4 separate regions of the Homo sapiens genome follow, and regions 1, 3 and 4 are each linked to region 2. Evidence: promoter capture Hi-C in 16 types of primary human blood cells and fetal thymus (Javierre and others, 2016). All regions are on one chromosome and are shown on one strand. The core of a region is centred on a gene start or on the middle of the fragment in contact, and the rest is flanking DNA. Distances in the headings are between cores, read along the strand shown.

What was found. Contacts are between HindIII fragments. The CHiCAGO score rates a contact against its expected background, and 5 or more counts as called.
Region 1: a contact is called between a fragment that was not itself captured here and the fragment with the promoter of PDIA6 in region 2, in 3 of 17 cell types (naive CD4 T cells, endothelial precursors and fetal thymus). The highest score is 6.9, in naive CD4 T cells.
Region 3: a contact is called between a fragment that was not itself captured here and the fragment with the promoter of PDIA6 in region 2, in 12 of 17 cell types (fetal thymus, M2 macrophages, megakaryocytes and 9 more). The highest score is 12.7, in fetal thymus.
Region 4: a fragment that was not itself captured here is called in contact with the fragment with the promoter of PDIA6 in region 2 in 10 of 17 cell types (M2 macrophages, non-activated CD4 T cells, naive CD4 T cells and 7 more); the score reaches 9.8 in M2 macrophages.

What each region holds. Positions count from the first base shown.
Region 1 is chr2:11,176,722-11,179,421 of GRCh38, reverse strand. SLC66A3 (solute carrier family 66 member 3) reads right to left here. Exons shown (of 7, transcript NM_152391.5): 7 at 566-1,685. The coding sequence ends at 1,594. Among named protein-coding and RNA genes, the nearest start is that of SLC66A3, 23 kb to the right of the region's middle. The HindIII fragment of the contact is 862 bases long and covers 913-1,774 here.
Region 2 is chr2:10,811,377-10,814,194 of GRCh38, reverse strand. It overlaps PDIA6 (protein disulfide isomerase family A member 6), which reads left to right and starts at 1,410. Exons shown (of 13, transcript NM_005742.4): 1 at 1,410-1,517. The coding sequence starts at 1,499. RefSeq lists a silencer at 1,108-1,857 and an enhancer at 2,348-2,407. The HindIII fragment of the contact is 7,767 bases long and covers 1-2,818 here.
Region 3 is chr2:11,122,110-11,125,130 of GRCh38, reverse strand. FLJ33534 (Putative uncharacterized protein FLJ33534) reads left to right here. Exons shown (of 9, transcript NR_040080.1): 4 at 346-548; 5 at 1,842-1,979. Among named protein-coding and RNA genes, the nearest start is that of FLJ33534, 8.6 kb to the left of the region's middle. The HindIII fragment of the contact is 1,228 bases long and covers 925-2,152 here.
Region 4 is chr2:11,138,701-11,141,400 of GRCh38, reverse strand. It overlaps CIMIP5 (ciliary microtubule inner protein 5), which reads right to left. Exons shown (of 3, transcript NM_001371321.1): 2 at 852-891. Among named protein-coding and RNA genes, the nearest start is that of CIMIP5, 6.9 kb to the right of the region's middle. The HindIII fragment of the contact is 7,524 bases long and covers 1-2,700 here.

The DNA of each region.
Region 1 (2,700 bases), core at 94-2,593, 370 kb before region 2:
AAAGTGTTTCTCTGGCAATCAGTGGAACCTTTTCTAGGGCACTTATTTGCTATGTGCTCTTGGGCAGGTTATTCACTCTGAGCCTCCGTGTTTTCATCTGTAAAATGGAGATATAGATTGTGTCTACTTTACAGGATCACTGGCAGATTAAGTAAGTATGATGTGTGTAGAATGTCTGAGATGGCTCGAGTGTTTGTTGCCTTACAAAGGGGGAAAAACAGAGACCCTGTCACCTAAGTATGCTCTTAAAGGAGTTGCTTTAAGCAGTGATAAAGTACTAATGTTATCTAAATATAACATTTGTTGGACTAAAAATCATATAATTTGTATTGATGCTAATGGTCAGATTATAACTGCAAATGAAAAAAGATTAACTTGCATGTTTAAAAATATGACATCTGTAATTTTAACAACTACAGAATGAATAATTTTGTCTTTAGATACCATGTTTCTCTTCCTGTTGGTCCCAAGCAGTAGTTCTAAAAGGATTAACCAGTTTGTTTAAAAACTATACCTTACATAAAATAGTCATATTAATGATTGACAGTTTTAAGACTCAGCAGAATTCAAAATATGAAAATTTATTTTGCATAGGAAACAATAATCTCTGGTAAACATCATTACTGCATCTAACAAAACAATGCCTTCAATTAAAGGGGGAAAGTGAGTTTTTAAACATTAGGGTTAATTTAGAAGAAAATACAGTATATAATAATCTCAACATCATGTTTAGGGTAAAAATGCTATAATGTGAAAAAAGTCCCTAAGAACTGGACAGAACCTACCTAACAACACCATTTACCGTGTATGTTTTCAATAGACAAAACATATTTTGTACCAAATTCCAACAGTGGTAATTCTATAGTTGTGGCCCTTTAAAAAATGGCAGCATTGTACTTGAATCAGAAAGCTTACTGGGATTTCCTCATCGAAAGTAGAGATTGCAGCTAATCCTAGTACCTTTTGTTAGTAATTACTTAAGGCACAGTGCAAAGTTGAAGGACTGTTTTGGTACAAACTCAAGCCAGCTACATGTATGCTTGCCTTGGTATCCTTGCTAGAGCACATGCGGGTATAATACCGTATTATACACAACAAGGCCACCCTGTTGTATCTGTGTTACAATTAAACATCAGTCCCAGAAAGTGAACCCTAGTCATTTATTATAGGTGCCCACCTCTGACTTGGAACAAAATGCCACTCCATTCATGTTCATTTTTGTCCTGGAGAGGATTTATTTCCTAAAAGATTCTGAAAGCCAACAAATCAATGTAGTTCTTCATAGAGAACTTAAGAGTAAGGCTCAAAATGGCCTCAAAATGGGCTTCTTGGATGACTTCCAACAGTGACTGGCCTCAACACTGCAGATGTCTGAGCACTACCATAACCTAACGAAGTGAGGAAGGAGGAGGCAAATTGGTATTTTTAAACAAGAATTTAAGTGGCTCTTTCTTTCAAGTCTAAAAAAACCTTTGGCTTTAAAGATTATAAACTGATTTACTAAATTTATAAAAGACCTTAATTTAGCAAAGAGCTTCTTTTTCCTTTGGTTCAGTTACTCAAAATCCACTGTGTGAAGGAATAATGTATCCATCATTCAGCCTTTATAGCGGTCTTCCGGTAGCGAAGTACTGTCACTGTTACCCATATATTTAAAGCCAGCATGATCACAAAACGTAGAAGAACTGAAATAAAAAAAAAAGTGTATTAAAAACTGTCTTTACAATACAGACCAAAACCACCTCCTGCTCAAAGTATAAGCCTAAATAAAGCTTCACCCCCAACCTCCGAAATGAACAATTTTGGTTCCAGTTATTTCTGGGGAAATGATCTCCCTATCATGACAATTTTTGGCCCCTTGGCCCAACTTCATAAATAATAATTTATCATCTTAAGTGCTCAATTGACAGTAATGTGGCTCTGGCTAAGAAGGGTTATAACTTTTAACTTTTTTTTTTTTTTTTTGAGACAGTCTTGCCCTGTCACCCAGGCTGGGGTTCAGTGGCCTGTCTTGGCTCACTGCAACCTCCACCTTCTGGGTTCAAGTGATTCTCCCGCCTCAGCTCCCCAGGCACCTGGGATGACAGGTGCCCACCACCACGCCTGGCTATTTTTTGTATTTTTAGTAGAGACAGGGTTTCACCATGTTGCCCAGGCTGGTCTCAAACTCCTGACCTCAAGTAATCTGCCCACCTTGGCCTCCCAAAGTGCTGGGATTACAGGCGTGAGCCACTGTGCCCAGCCTAAGAAGGGTTATAACTTTTAAAAATCCCTTTACTCATCTGACGTCCTGAGGGTGCTGCTGTCTCAGAACGTTCCATATTAAGCAAGGGTGGTTTAACATACTCTGTTAAGATCATCCTGAAAAACTGGCCCACAGGACAAGGCATATTTTATATTCAAGTAACCATGAAAATGTGTCTCTTTGTGGAAAAATAAATAAATAAATATATATAACTTTAACAGTGACTTAACTTCTACTTTAAGGTACGGATACACTCCTGATAAATAGGTTTAATGAGATTTAAGATATCTTTGTGTTTGAAAAACACATGTAAGATTTTAGCTGAACTGTTTTTAAAAAGTTATTCCCTGGCCGGGCGCGGTGGCTCACGCCTGTAATCCCAGCACTTTGGGAGGCCGAGGCGGGCGGATCACGAGGTCAGGAGATCGAGACCATCCCGGCTAAAACGGTGAAAC
Region 2 (2,818 bases), core at 161-2,660:
CCCCACCACTCCTGGACCCCTGCCTAAGAATACTTATGCCTTACACACTACAATATGGAGAAATTACTAATACAAAAACAAAATGTCCGAGTCCACTCCAAACATAGGAGGGAGAATCAAGGCGGAAAGATACAGTGGTCTTAACTTGTGCTTGAAAGATTTTACTTTTAGGTCGGGCGTGGTGGCTCACAACTGTAATCCTAGCATTTTGGGAGGCCGAAGCAGGCGGATCACCTGAGGTCGGGAGTTCGAGACCAGCCTGGCCAATATGGAGAAACCCTGTCTCTGCTAAAAATACAAAAATTAGCCGGGCGTGGTGACATGCACCTGTCATCCCAGCTTCTCGGGAAGCTGAGGCAAGAGAAACCCTGTCTCTGCTAAAAATACAAAAATTAGCCGGGCGTGGTGACATGCACCTGTCATCCCAGCTTCTCGGGAAGCTGAGGCAAGAGAATCGCTTGAACCCGGGAGGCAGAGGTTGCAGTGAGCCAAGACCCCGCCTTTGCACTCCAGCCTGGGCAACAAGGGCAAAACTCCATCTCAAAAAAAAGCAAAAAAATTTTTACTTTTGCCGGGCGTGGTGGCCCATGCCTGTGATCCCAGCACTTTGGGAGGCCGAGGCAGGAGGCTCACTGCAGCCCAGGAGTTCAAGGCTGCAGTGAACTGTATCATGCCACTGCTCGCCAGCCTGCCCCACAAACATATTTTTTTTCACTTTTGCATATTTTACAAAGCACACACCCACGTGAGCGCATTGCCAGCCCCCTCGCCCCCCAGGACAAAGTGGAGACCCTGTCAGCGAGGAGGCTACCGCTTAAGTCCCTGGGGTTCTCCAGAGAAGGAGGAGAAGGCTCTGCAGAGCCATGCGCCCTGGACGGAAGAACTTTCAAAAGTAATTCAACAAAATAGAAACTTGTCGAATTACATTGCAGACAGCGCGTGCGGAGCAAATGTGTGTCCACGGAATATTCGTCGGGCACAAGAGGAATTCCCTGTCAGCTCCCAGGACCGTGGGTGCCCTGAGGCCGAGTCACGCTCCCCCGGGATAAAGAGGGTGGGGGCGCACACAGGCAAGGAGGAGGCGGGGTGGGGGGGTGCAGAATAAGGAACTAAGGTAAAAACGCCCAGTACTGGACTCCCCTCCGAGCAGCACCCCGAGAGGGCCCGGAGGAGCTGAGGCGGTGCGAGCCGAGACTGCCAGCCCCGCCCCCAGCAGGCCCCGCCTTCCGCTGCTCGCCACCGCCCCCGTGAAAAAAAACCAAACCGGTAACCTCTACCCGGCCGCCTCCCATTGGATATGTGAGTGAGCGATGTCCGCCCGGACCAATGAGCCGCAGCCACGGCTTGGCGAGCGCCTTCCGGCCCGCCCCCGCGCGGCCGCCCCTCGGACCACCGGACTGGCCTGGGGCGGGACGTGGGCGCGGGGGCGCGGCGTGCGGCACGCTGCAGGGCTGAAGCGGCGGCGGCGGTGGGGACTGCACGTAGCCCGGCGCTCGGCATGGCTCTCCTGGTGCTCGGTAGGTGCGGGCCAGCGGAGGGAGGCGGGCGAGCTGGGGTCGGCCTGAAAGGTTTCGAATCTCTAGGCCGTTCCCCGGCGGGCCGCGGCCGCAGGCGGCCGGAAGTGGGCCTGGCGGGCGGGAGGCGCGGGCCTCGGCGTCCGGAGGAGCTGCTAGGTTGCCCCGGCGGAGGTGCGGGTGCGCGGGAGACTCGGGCGCCCGTGGGGAGGGGCTTCCGCAGCCGCGGGGGGCGGGAGCCTCGTGCGCTGGAGCCGGGCGCGGGGTCCAGGGCCGGGCGGGAGAGCCGCGGAGCCCAGCCCCGGCCGGATCCCGGGGAGGGGGTCTGTATTCCCGGAGAGTCGCAGGGGAGCTTGTTCCGGGCTCTTCTCGAACTCGTGCGTGGGGACGGAGGTTGGCGGGCGTCCTGCACTGCTGCTTGTTTCTGCCACCTGCTTTATGCAGCTCCTACTTTTAAAAACTGAAATGTTAAGCCGGGCGCGGTGGCTCACACCTGTAATCCCAGCACTTTGGAAGGCCGAAGCGGGTGGATCATCTGAGGTCAGGAGTTCGAGACCAGCCTGACCAACATGGCGAAACCCCGTCTCTACTAAAAATACAAAATTAGTCGGGCGTGGTGTCGCGCGCCAGTGATCCCAGCTACTCAGAAGGCTGAGGCAGGAGAATCTCCTGAACCCCCAGGAGGCGGAGGTTGCAGTGAGCCGAGATCGCGCCACTCCAGCCTGGGCAACAAGAGTGAAACTCTGTCTCAGAAACGAAAAACTGAAATGTTAAATCTCAGTCCTGAAATAAGGACCCATAGTTCCCTTAGAAAGGGACAGTGCCTTCCAAAAGCTGGGCTTAAGACGCAGGGGCGCTTCGCATGTGATCGGACTCCTTAAAAACGAAATGGAACGCGGCGTCTTAGGAATTCTGTAAATGTCTGCTTCTTAGTGGGCGAGGCCGAGGGTCCTGTCCTTGCCGGGCTCGCCTTGGTCACAGCCTTGGCTCTGACAGTCCTTAACCTCGGCTCTGGCCTCAGACCACCTTCCCCCTATTTACTGGCTCTGTGACTTGGAGCAAGTTACTTAACCACTCTGTGCCAGTGCCTTTTCAACGGTGTTCACCATTTTAGGGACTGATAATAGTACTCCCTTAGGGTTGTCCTGAGGATTAATGAGTTAGTACATGTCTTTCTGTTTTTTGAGACACGGTCTTGCTCTGTCTCCTAGGCTGGAGTGCAGGGTTTCCATCATAGTTCACTGCAGCCTGGAACTCCTGGTCTCAAGGGATCCAGGCACATGCCACCACACCTGGCTAATTTT
Region 3 (3,021 bases), core at 289-2,788, 310 kb before region 2:
AGTGTGCTTTCTTGCATTTCTCTTGTGAAGTGTTGTGACGGCCTTGTGAAGTGGAGCCGATCACATGTGGATTTAGGGGCAGAAACTGGAAGACCACAACCCACCTAGACCGCACAGGCAAGAAATGGACCCCCAGGACCAGAATCCCTTCTGACTATAGTTTCTGGCCTCTTCTTCAGTTGTTATTTGCAGAGAAAAAGCATCTCACATAAACAGTTTTACTTCGGTTATCAAAAAGATACTCAATGATCTATATTTCAAAGACTCTAGATTCCTGGGAGTTGGGGGAATTTTAAGCATTGGGAACATATTCTGGAGCATGTCTTTATGTTCTTTATTCTGTAGCTTCCCATGGGTGGCCAGCCGAATGCATTATGGGAGAAAGCAGGTCTCGTGGATAATATTTCTGAAGATCGGAGCAGGTTGCCAGGTCCACGTCGGCCATGACTGCAGCACGCTCCGGAGGCAGCAGGGGGCACCCTGGAGCTTCGCATCCTCCTTCAGGCCCGCGGCATCTCCCCTGGCTCCACCATCCCCAGGTGTCTCAGGTTGGACGCACGGTAGTTCGCTATGGCCATTTCTGATTAAAGACAGAACAAATGGATTGTCCGGATACGGTGTCTGTGAAAGGAACCCAGCTGTGAGCCTCGGCAGGCAGGTGCGACATTCTAAATCCACAGGGAGGGCCCAGAAGGGACGCAAGAGGTCACCTGCCGTGCAGGGTGCGGGGGGTCTTGGAGGTGGGCAGCAGCTGTTCACCCGTGAGCGACGAGGAGCATCAGCGCTTGAACAGCGGAAGCAGCATTTACAGGTGAACACCAGCCCGAGAGGGCCGGGGGGCCCAAAGCTATGGTGTCCAGAGCCTCCCAGCTCCCACTCTGGCCTCCAGTGGCCATGGAATTGCTAACTATGAGGGCGCAAGCTTCTCCCAGCAAGTCAAGGGGATGCTATGTGCTGCGATAACGGGTCCGGCCGCCTTGCCTTTGGCCTTCCAAGCCCCTCTCTGAGCCCCAGGACGTACCCACACCTGCCGGCCCATGTAGGGTGGTCCCAGCCTGCGTCAGTCAGGCCACACTCCGGAGCCAGGCTTGGTGCAAACTCCCAGCTGAGCTCACCCGCTGGCTGCGGTCTGTGATACTTCCCTGGTGGTCTCTGACGGGGCTGTATGGCCTCCCTCTGGAACCCAGGCTGAACACTCGAGGAGCTGGAGGCAGTCGGGCAGAATCAGCCTCTGGTTGCCAGCATGGGGTGTCAGGCAGGGGCAATCCAGCGGGGAGCCTGGGGAGAGAGGGCGGGGGTGAGGCACTGATCTCAGGCTGTGGGGAGGAATTCACACCTGCATGGCTGAGGCTGGTGCTGCCCCCCTGATCACCAGGAGATCAGCCTCTCCTTCCCCAGCCTCAATTTGCACCCCTGGCCTGTGCGGTTGGCACTGTCTCCCGTGGGGAGCCCCTGCCTGGCTCAGGGGAGACCCTGGTGCAGAGCCCACCTTTGGAGCTGCCCTGTCCTGCTGAGGCAGGAGCCACCCCTGGCCTGGCCCTGGCCCTGGCCCTGGCCCTCCGGTGAGGCTGCAGTAGCCAGGAGAAGGCCAGTCAGAAAGGCCATCTGCCTGGCGGGTGTTTCTAGCCAGCAGGCCAGGGTAAGGAAGTTGTCAGGCGTCCTGCGGGGATGGCCAGGGTTGCAGACAGGGGTGGCAGCCAGCTCCATGTAGCTCTGGGACCCAGGTGTGTGGCAGGGCCAGGAGCATGTTCTGCTGCTCTTCCAGGCCCGACTCCAGCTCATTTCCTTGAGAGACCCTTTCACCTATTCCAACCTGCATTTGCCTGTGTCGTCCTTTGCAGCAGCAGCCTTGTGGCTGTGCCTCTTCTGTGCCCTCCGAGTTCTAGGCTGAGGGTGAGGATTGGATGAGTTGATCCACGCAAGGCTCCTGGCACAGTGCCTGGCATATGGTTAAATAGACTTGAAGTTATAATTACCAGGTATGTGACCCTGTCCTCAATATGAGTGCCACAGTGGGCTGGAGAGTGGCAGCCCTGCTGGGCAGGATCGTAGGGTCTCAGTGACAGGCCTTCCTCGTATCCCTGACAGGGAGAGAGGCTCACTGAATAGTAAGTTGGCTGTGTCTTTTCTGTCTGAGCCTCTCTGGGAAGCTTCCAAGGGGATAAAGGCTTGAGCTGGAACTTGGAGGAGTTTGCAGGTGGCTGGATTGGGGTGGGGGTGGGGAGGAGGGTGCCAGCATGCCAGGTGGGGGAACAGCATGGGCGAAGGTATGGAGATGGGGGAGGGATCTGGACAGGGTGCCTGTGGCTGGAGCACAGGGCATGTGTGGGCGGGAAGCAGGTGAAGAGAGGAAGAGCTCTGGGGGACTTCTGGAGGGGACCCACCGTAGGAGCAGGCCAATGGCTGGCAGGGCTAAGTGGTGCAGGTGCCCCTGATGGATTTGATCGAGGTGGGCACACATGCTCATGTCAGAGGCATGTAAACCAGAGCAACTCCATCTTGCGTAGGAGCTGGGTAAAATGAGGCTGAGACCTACCGGGCTGCATTCCTGGACAGTTAAGGCATTCTAAGTCATGGGACAAGACGACACAGGTCATAACGACCTTGCTGATGAAACAGGTTGCAGTAAAGAAGCTGGTCAAAACCCACAAAAACCAAGACAGCCATGAGAGTGACCTCCGGTCGTCCTCGCTGCTACACTCCCACCAGGGCCATGACAGTTTACAAATGCCACAGCAATGTCAGGAAGTTAGCCTATATGGTCTAAAAAGGGCAGGCATGAATAATCCACCCCTTGTTTAGCAGATCATCAAGAAATAACCATAAAAATGTGCAGCCAGCAGCCCTCGGGGCTGCTCTGCCTATGGAGTAGCCATTCTTTATTCCTTTACTTTCTTAATAAACTTGCTTTCACTTTACAGACTCACCCTGAATTCTTTCTGGGGTGAGATCCAAGAACCCTCTCTTGGGTTGTGGATCGGGACCCCTTTCCTGTAACATATATAGCTCTGTACACCTTGA
Region 4 (2,700 bases), core at 171-2,670, 330 kb before region 2:
ATCCCAGCACTTTGGGAAGCCGAGGCAGTTGGCTAATTGAGGTCAGGAGTTCGAGACCAGCCTGGCTAACATAGTGAAACCCCCTCTCTACTAAAAATACAAATATTAGCCAGGCATGGTGGTGTGCACCTATAATCTCAGCTACTCAGGAGGCTGAGGCAGGAGAATCACTAGAATCCAGGAGGTGGAGATTGCAGTGAGCCAAGATTGCACCACTGCACTCCAGCCTGGGCGACAGAGCAAGACTCCATCTCAAAAAAAAAAAAAAAAAAAAAAAAAGTGTGTTGTGGGGTCTGTGTGGGGTGGGTAATGAGGCTGGGGAGATAGATGGTTTAGATCACAGGAGGCTTTGTAAGCCACCTGAAAATTTCAGACTTACTGAAGCATTTTAATCAGGGGAGCTACATGGCCAGTTCTGCCGTTTAGGGAAATTAGTCTGGTGGCAATGTGGAGGATGGATTGGAGGTGGTGATACCAGAGTCAGGGAATTTGTTTACAAAGTATTTTTACCCAATCTCATTGTCCTTCTCGGGCACGCCACACAGATATGACTACATATTGCTGCCATCCTCAATCAGGGGAGACATTTCAGCAACAGATGCCTGTCATTTCCAATTGGTTCATCTTAATAAAATTAAGAAACACTGAGGGAAACACATTTCTAAATGCTTCATGTAACTGTTTTCTATCCAACGGACCCTGCATTCCTTGAAACAAGAGTGTATTTGACTCATCGCTGCACATCCAGTATCTGGTGTAGAGTAGATCTTCAATAAATGTTAGTTGAATGATGGAAAGAATGAGTAATATTCAATTGCAAGTATGTTTGGCAGGAACATATTTTACCTTACCATTGGGTCATAGTCTTTCAGGAAACTCCAGTTCTGAATCCTGGAAAGGAAAAACATGTTGGCTGTGTGAGTTCCTTCCAGGACATTTTTACCAATGACTTTCACTGTGTCAAGTCAATGCAACAATGTATCACGTGGAAGAACTAAATAATTTTTTTTTTTTTTTTTTTTTTTTAAGACGGAGGCTCACTCTGTCACCCAGGCTGGAGTGCCGTGGCGCAATCTTGGCTCCCTGCAAGCTCCGCCTCCCGGGTTCACGCCATTCTCCTGCCTCAGCCTCCCGAGTAGCTGGGACTACAGGCACCCGCCACCGCGCCTGGCTAATTTTTTGTATTTTTAGTAGAGATGGGGTTTCACCGTGGTCTCGATCTCCTGACCTTGTGATCCGCCCGCCTCGGCCTCCCAAAGTGCTGGGATTACAGGCGTGAGCCACCACGCCCAGCCTTTTTTTTTTTTTTTTTTTGAGAGGGAGTCTCGCTCTGTCACCTAGGCTGAAGTGCAGTGGCATAATCTCAGCTCACTGCAACCTCTGCCTCCCAGGTTCAAGCAATTCCCCTGTCTCAGCCTCCCAAGTAGCTGGGACTACAGGTGCATGCCACCACACCCGGCTAATTTTTGTATTATTAGTGTAGATGGGGTTTCACCATATTGGTCAGGCTGGTCTTGAATTCCTGACCTCAGGTGGTCCACCCACCTTGGCCTCCCAAAGTGCTGGGATTACAGGCATGAGCCACTGTGCCCAGCCAGAACAAAATAATTTTTAAGTGAAACAAATGCCAAGTGTCAAGCAGGTATTTATGGTGTATCCTACCAAAGGAACAAACATTTCAATTTCCAATGACTTTTCCTAGAACGACAAATATGATGTCACTATGGTGGGGCTGCCTAAGGAAAGCAAAGGCTACCATCTCGCCCTGCCTCTGTGCATTTCAGAAGGCTACAGTAGGCAAGCATTCTCTGAAGAAAAAAGTTTTCACATCCCCAAACCTTTGTAACTTTCCAATGTGAGTGATAGAGGAAGGCTAGGGAGAGGTAGGAAAAGGGAGGGACCATAAGGATAGTATTAGCTTGCACTGGCCATTTAGTTTTATTTGAATCTAATCTTAAAAAGTCAAACAATTCTACAAAACATAATAAAAACAGCCTTCTCTGTCCCCATCCTCACAGCCCCTGAGCCCCACATCCTAGAGTCAAACCTTTGCCAGCCTTTTAGCTGTTTCTTCAGGCCTTTGCATCCATATTTTGAAATAATAGGATTCTACTGCTGTATTATGCCATTCTTGCCTTGCTATAAATAATACCTGAGACTGGGTAATTTATAAAGAAGGTGTAGGACAGGTGCGGTGGCTCACGCCTGTAATCCCAGCACTTTGGGAAGCTAAGGTGGGTGGATCACCTGAGGTCAGGAGTTCGAGACCAGCCTGGCCAACATGGTGAAACCCTGTCTCCACCAAAAATACAAAAATTAGCCGGGCATGGTGGCGGGCGCCTGTAATACCAGCTACTAGGGAGGCTGAGGCAGGAGAATCGCTTGAGCCCAGGAGGTGGAGGTTACAGTGAGCAGAGATCAAGCCACTGCACTCCAGCCTGGGTGACAGAGTGAGACTCTGTCTCAAAAAATAAAAATAAATAAAAATAAAAATAAAAAAAAGAAGGTGTAATTGGCTAACAGTTCCACAGGCTGTACAGGAAGCAGGATGCTGGCATCTGCTTAGCTTCTGGGGTGGTCTCAGGAAACTTACAATCATGGTGGAAGGCAAAGTGGCAGCAGGCAGGTCACATGGCCAGAGCAGGAGCAAAGGAGAGAGAAGGGAAGTGCCACACACTTTAAAAGAACCAGATCTGGTGA